Regions from separate parts of the Homo sapiens genome. Here region 1 is linked to region 2. Evidence: promoter capture Hi-C in 16 types of primary human blood cells and fetal thymus (Javierre and others, 2016). All regions are on one chromosome and are shown on one strand. The core of a region is centred on a gene start or on the middle of the fragment in contact, and the rest is flanking DNA. Distances in the headings are between cores, read along the strand shown.

Evidence for each region. The method cuts DNA at HindIII sites, captures the fragments that hold promoters and counts their contacts. A CHiCAGO score of 5 or more calls a contact.
Region 1: a fragment that was not itself captured here is called in contact with the fragment with the promoter of PHF21A in region 2 in 1 of 17 cell types (total B cells); the score reaches 5.7 in total B cells.

What each region holds. Positions count from the first base shown.
Region 1 is chr11:45,841,643-45,844,342 of GRCh38, forward strand. No RefSeq gene overlaps it. Among named protein-coding and RNA genes, the nearest start is that of CRY2, 4.5 kb to the right of the region's middle. The HindIII fragment of the contact is 395 bases long and covers 1,090-1,484 here.
Region 2 is chr11:46,120,056-46,122,755 of GRCh38, forward strand. PHF21A (PHD finger protein 21A) reads right to left here and starts at 1,399. Exons shown (of 19, transcript NM_001352027.3): 1 at 880-1,399. It overlaps LOC105376661 (a long non-coding RNA gene), which reads left to right and starts at 2,090. Exons shown (of 3, transcript XR_931252.4): 1 at 2,090-2,700. RefSeq lists silencers at 1-8, 1,422-1,481, 1,922-2,231. The HindIII fragment of the contact is 5,748 bases long and covers 1-2,700 here.

The DNA of each region.
Region 1 (2,700 bases), core at 37-2,536, 280 kb before region 2:
CTGTTAAGTATATGCTAGGAGTGAAACTGCTGGGTCATAGAATATATCGTTCATGATTTGTAAGGTATTTGGCTTTTCGAATTTAATATATAACAGACACTTTTTTAAAGTGGTTGTATCAATTTACACTCCCAACAGCAGTGTATTTTAATTGCTCACATCCTCCCAAACACTTGGTTTTATCAATCCTTTTAACTTTATTCATTCTTGCGGGCCTATAGTGGTACCTCATTGTGGTTTTAATTTGTAGCTCCCTAATGAGCTAATGAAGGTGAGTACCTTTTCATGTGTTCATTGCCCACTTAAATATCCATCCTTTGGGGCGGGGGTGTGTGGAAAGTGTCGCAGGTAGCCACTATCTGGGGCCAGTGTTGTGCAGGCAGTAAAAAGAATTTACGAGGACAGTTGTAGGTAAAGAAAGGCAGATTTATTAGAGAAAGTATGAAAAGACATTGCAAGGGTACAATGGGCAGGTCAGCAAGAGAGGAGCTGACTACAAAGAGACAAAGGCTTGCTGGGGATTTTATAGGATGGTGCTTGTGCTGTGTACTGAAGAGGGCTTTGTGCAGTGCTGATAATGCCAAGGTTGCAGTCAGCTATCAGCCAAGGGACTGGTGATAGCTGGGCACAGGAAGATTGTGAGTTATTTGCACAGGAGGGCTATGTGTCCTGGGCCACAAAGAAAGGTAGACTTACAGTTTATCTGCTTTTTCTTTTTGCTTTCCTTCAATCCCACCAGTCTGACTCCTTTTGCCTAATTAGGACTCTACAGAAAGTGCCTATTCAAGTCTCTGGCCTAGTTTCAAATTGGATTGCCTATCTTTTTTTATTATTATGATTTCTAAGGGCTGTTGACATATTCTGGATTTGAGCTCTTTAAGAATTATAAATATTATGTAAGTATCTTTTCTCATTCTATGGTTTGCCTTTTCACTCTCCGAATAATGTTTTTTGATTAACAGTTCCTAATTTTAACACAGTCCAACTCATCAACATTTTCTTTAATGGTTAGTGCTTTTCATGTCTTTTTCAAGAAATGTTTGTCTTCCCCCAAGGTTGCGAAGATATTCTCCAATACAATCTTCTTAAAGCTTTATCGTTTTACCCCTCACATTAAGCATATAATCTATCTGGAATTGATTTGTATGTTGTGAGATGGAGTCAAGTTTCACTTTTTTACAATGGAATACCTGATTGACCCATTACTTTCCCCACTTCTTTACGGAGACATCTTTGTCGTGAATAAAATGTCCAGATTCATGTGGACCTGTTTCTGGATTCTCAATTCTGACTTATTAGTCTATTGACCTTTCCCTAATTTCATATTGTACTTTTATTATAAGTATCATCATCCCCATTTTACAAATGAGGAAACTAAGGCACAGAGAGGTTAATTAGCTCGCCCAATTAAGTAATTTGCTAGTTAATGTCAGATCTGGAAATGGAACCCAGGGAGTTTAGTTTTACGGTCTGTGCTCTCAATAAGCTTTACTGCTTCTCAAGCTTAACAGTTCCAAGAACAAACATTTTACGTCACTACATCAAAATAGGCTTTTGCGTGAAGCCTTGGGAACAGGCATGCCACCTCTGCACCCTGGATTGGTCCTGGTGTTCCCCGCCCAGCCGCAAACCGAACCGCCGCTGTCCCAGTCCTACCACTAGAGGGCGCGGATAACTTAAACTGGCCGGGGACTTCCCTCCCGCCGCGCCTGGTTACCTTCAGCCAATCATCAAATATTTACCCAAAGCGCAGTTCAAAGCCAAAGTAGAAAGTTGTCTAATCCAGTCTCCATGCAGGACATTAACAAAAAGAGACAAAACAGGACTGATCTATCTGCGTAAGTATCTTCGGGGGAGAAAGACGCCACTCAGTTCCTGGCTAATTCATCTCATCCTTAAAGCACCTTATCCTAAGTCTCTCCAATCTTTCACTCTTCCTAGTGTAAACTAGGTTGTTTGGCATCCTCATGACAACCACTCTTTGGAGGTACTTTTTACAAGGTGTACACTAGAGTGCATTATTATGAGATCAAAAATTAGCTTTTATTTCTCTCGAAGAGACAATAGTACCCCATTACATTTCACTTCCTTAGCAATGTACAGGTTTCTTTGGTCTCTGTCCAATTTCTCTGTGTCCCTTTTAAAGTGTAAAAACCCAAAGTGGACTTTGCACTCTAGTATTCTATCTAGTGTCAGATTTACTTCCCGATTCTTTTTTTTTTTTTTCCGAAGTCTCACTTCGTCACTCAGACTGAAGTCTGGTGGCGTGATCTTGGTTCACTGTAATCTCCACCTCCCGGGTTCAAGTAATTCTGCTGCCTCAGCCTCCTGAGTAGCTGGGATTACAGGCACGCGCCACCACACCTGGCTACTTTTTGTATTTTTAGTAGAGACGGGGCTTCACCATGTTGGCCAATCAATTCCTGACCTCAAATGATCCTCCTGCCTCGGCCTCCCAAAGTGCTGGGATTACAGGCGTGAGCCACCGCACCCACCCTACTTCCCGATTCTTGAATGTTACACTGTTAATATACTGAAGCAATATGCAATTATTCAATGAAGTATTAATAGTTCATCTTTATCAACTTGACAACACAAACCACAAAAAAACACAAAAGTAATGATGCAGCAATATACAACATGCTTAATATTTTAAGTTTTAAAAAAGCTGGGCCGGGTGCAATGGCTCATGCCTATAAT
Region 2 (2,700 bases), core at 149-2,648:
TTGCAGAAGAAGAAGAATAAGCGGAATTTCCCCAACGCTGCTCCGGCCACCCAAGACAAATGCACCAACACACTCACACTCACACACACACAAACACACACACTGGGGCCCGGCAGCGTCAGCAGCCGCAGCTTTTTTTTTTTTAAACCAGATCCCTCAGTCAACAAACAAGATGGTTTTCCAAAAAAAAATTTTTTTTAATTAAATAAATAATCATAATAAAAACTTCCCCCCGACAGCATCCCGGGGTGGGGTGGGGGGGATGGAGGAGCCCCAGCTACCTCCCCGGCCGAGGGACAGCCGAGGGGGGGCGGGCGAGGCTCCGTGCCCCCCGCCCCCGCCCGCAGCCCCCGGCCGGCCCCCCGCCGGGACAATGTGACGCCCCCTCCCCGCCGCCCCCGGCACGCCGCCTCTGTCACCGGCTCCGGCCCTGCACTCTGCGCCCAGGCTTCCGAGGCTGCTCATAAACTTACTTCCAATTTATCCTGGGGAGGGGTGGAGGGCAGAGGGGAGGGGGGGGAGCCAAGGTTTTCCCATTGTCTTTTTTTTCGGGGGGGAGGTATGGGAAGGGCACGCAGGGGGGCGCCCCGAAGGGGAAGTTATTGCTCAAATCTCAAGTTGACTGAGGGGTCCTGACGAGAACACCCCCCTTTCCCTCCTCCCTCCCACACACCCCTCCCCTCCCCCTACCTCCCCCCACAACAAACTCCAAGCAGGCAGCCCCTGATCCTCCCAGAGACAAACACCAGCGACAAGACAGAGGGAGAGAGGAGAGAGGCAGAGGGGGAAGGGGGAGGGAGGGGAAATAGAGCTACTCCAGAAAAAAAGAGAGAGAGGAGAGTGAGAAGAAGAGAGAATGGAAAAGCTGGGATACTGCACCCTCCTGCTGCTGGCTGGCTGTCCCCCCTGGCAGCTGGAGGCAGGAACTCTGAGCAGGAGAAGCAGGAGGAGGAGGAGGAGGGAACTCTTCTTCATGGGGAGGGAGGGAAGAAGCTGGAGCTGCTGCTGCTGCTTCTGCTGCTGCTCTGGGCCTCTCGCACTTTTTAGATATTAGTGTGTTAAGATGGTAGGTTGTTCCCTTCTCCCTCCTCCTCCTCCTCCTCTCCTCTCCTCTCTCTCTCACTCACTCTCTCTCTCTCTCTCTCTCTGGGCTGTTTCTTTCCTCCTCTTCCCCAGGCAAGGGGGGGTGGGGAGGAGGGGGTTGGGGGGAGGAACTGGATCCTCCTCCTCCTCCAGGAGGGACACACACAGGCCCCGGGCCGGAATCGGGAGGGGGGAATCAGAGCAGCAGGAGAGAAACTGTAGGAGACAAACAAGCCCAACTCTTCATCCTCCTCCTCCTCTCAGCAGCAGCAGCGAGCACCACCAGCCCATTCACCACCCGGCCCCGGGCCGCAGCACCTCCGCCGCCTCAGCCCGGGGATCCCTCCGCCCAGGCCCAGACACACTCGCCCGCGCGGGAGCCCGCCGCGCGGCCCCGCCGGCCCGCCGCCGCCGCCGCCGTGCGCGCCCCCGCCGCTCCCGAGAGCCGGGCGAGAGGGACTGGGGCTGGGAAAGCGGGGACGAGGGCGAGGGGAGAGGAGGCGCCGGGGGAGAGCGGGCCGCGGCGGGGAGGGAGGGGGCCGCCGGGCGGAGTGGTACGGCGGCCGGCCCGGGCCCCCGCGCCTCGGCCCGCGGCTCCCGGGACGCTCGGGTCCCCCCACCGGGGGCGGTGGGGCGTCGGCGGGGGGGGCGACGGGGGCCCGCGGCGGCGCTCGGGCGGGCGGACTACTTGACGTGTCGGTGCGGCGAATTTATTTCACTTTGCCTAAGGAACGGGGTGTGCTGCGGCACCCATTGCCTAGGGAAAAAACCCGGATGTAAAGTGAGTGAAACTAAACTAGAGTGAAGTAGGGCAGCGGCAGCCAAACTCCAGTGCAGCGGCGGCGGCGGCGGCGGTGATGGGGCCGAGCACCGAGCGGCGGCGAAGGCAGCCAAACTCCGGGGCCCGTGCAGCGCCGCAGCTCGGCTCCCGTGCAGCCGCAGCCGAGGCGAGGCCGGAGCCCGCGGCGGCCCCCCCAACTCCGCGGCCCGAGCCCAACTCCCCCCTCCCGCCGGCGGGAGCTGCAAAGGGGCTCCAGAGCGGCCCCAACTCCCTCCAGTGCAACAGCAGTTTGAAGGGGGGGGGGGAAAGCCGTGAGGGGCAGGAGCGAGGAGAAGTGATGGGGAAGCACTGCAATGGGGGAGCGTGGTCCAGGCAACAGGAGAAAGATGCAACCTCAAGTCGAATGCAACATGCAATCCCCGGCCGCCGCTCGCCCGCTCCCTCCCCTCGCCACCCCGCCCCCTTTCCAAATAACTACCCTTGAACCACTTTATTAGCAGTACTTAGTCCAGCACTCGCTCCCGGGAGGGGCGGGGGACGGGGGCCTTCGCTCACCTTTATTTATTGCTGCTTTCTCCCCCCTCTCCATGTTTTTTATTCCTAAGTTCTTTTGTTCTAAGGGGGATGATGGCATTTACTTTTCTGCTTTGTGTAGCAGGGCAATCACTGGGAATCGGCCACGTATAATCCGGCGGTTTGTCATATTTTATTAGTGAAAGTATTTTATGCCTATTCTACCTCCAAGGACTGTAACATGGAGAATTGCAGGGAGGAGAAAAACATCAGAAGAATTCTTGTTTTGAGAGATTTCTTGGCGGGGCGGGGGAGGGCCTTTT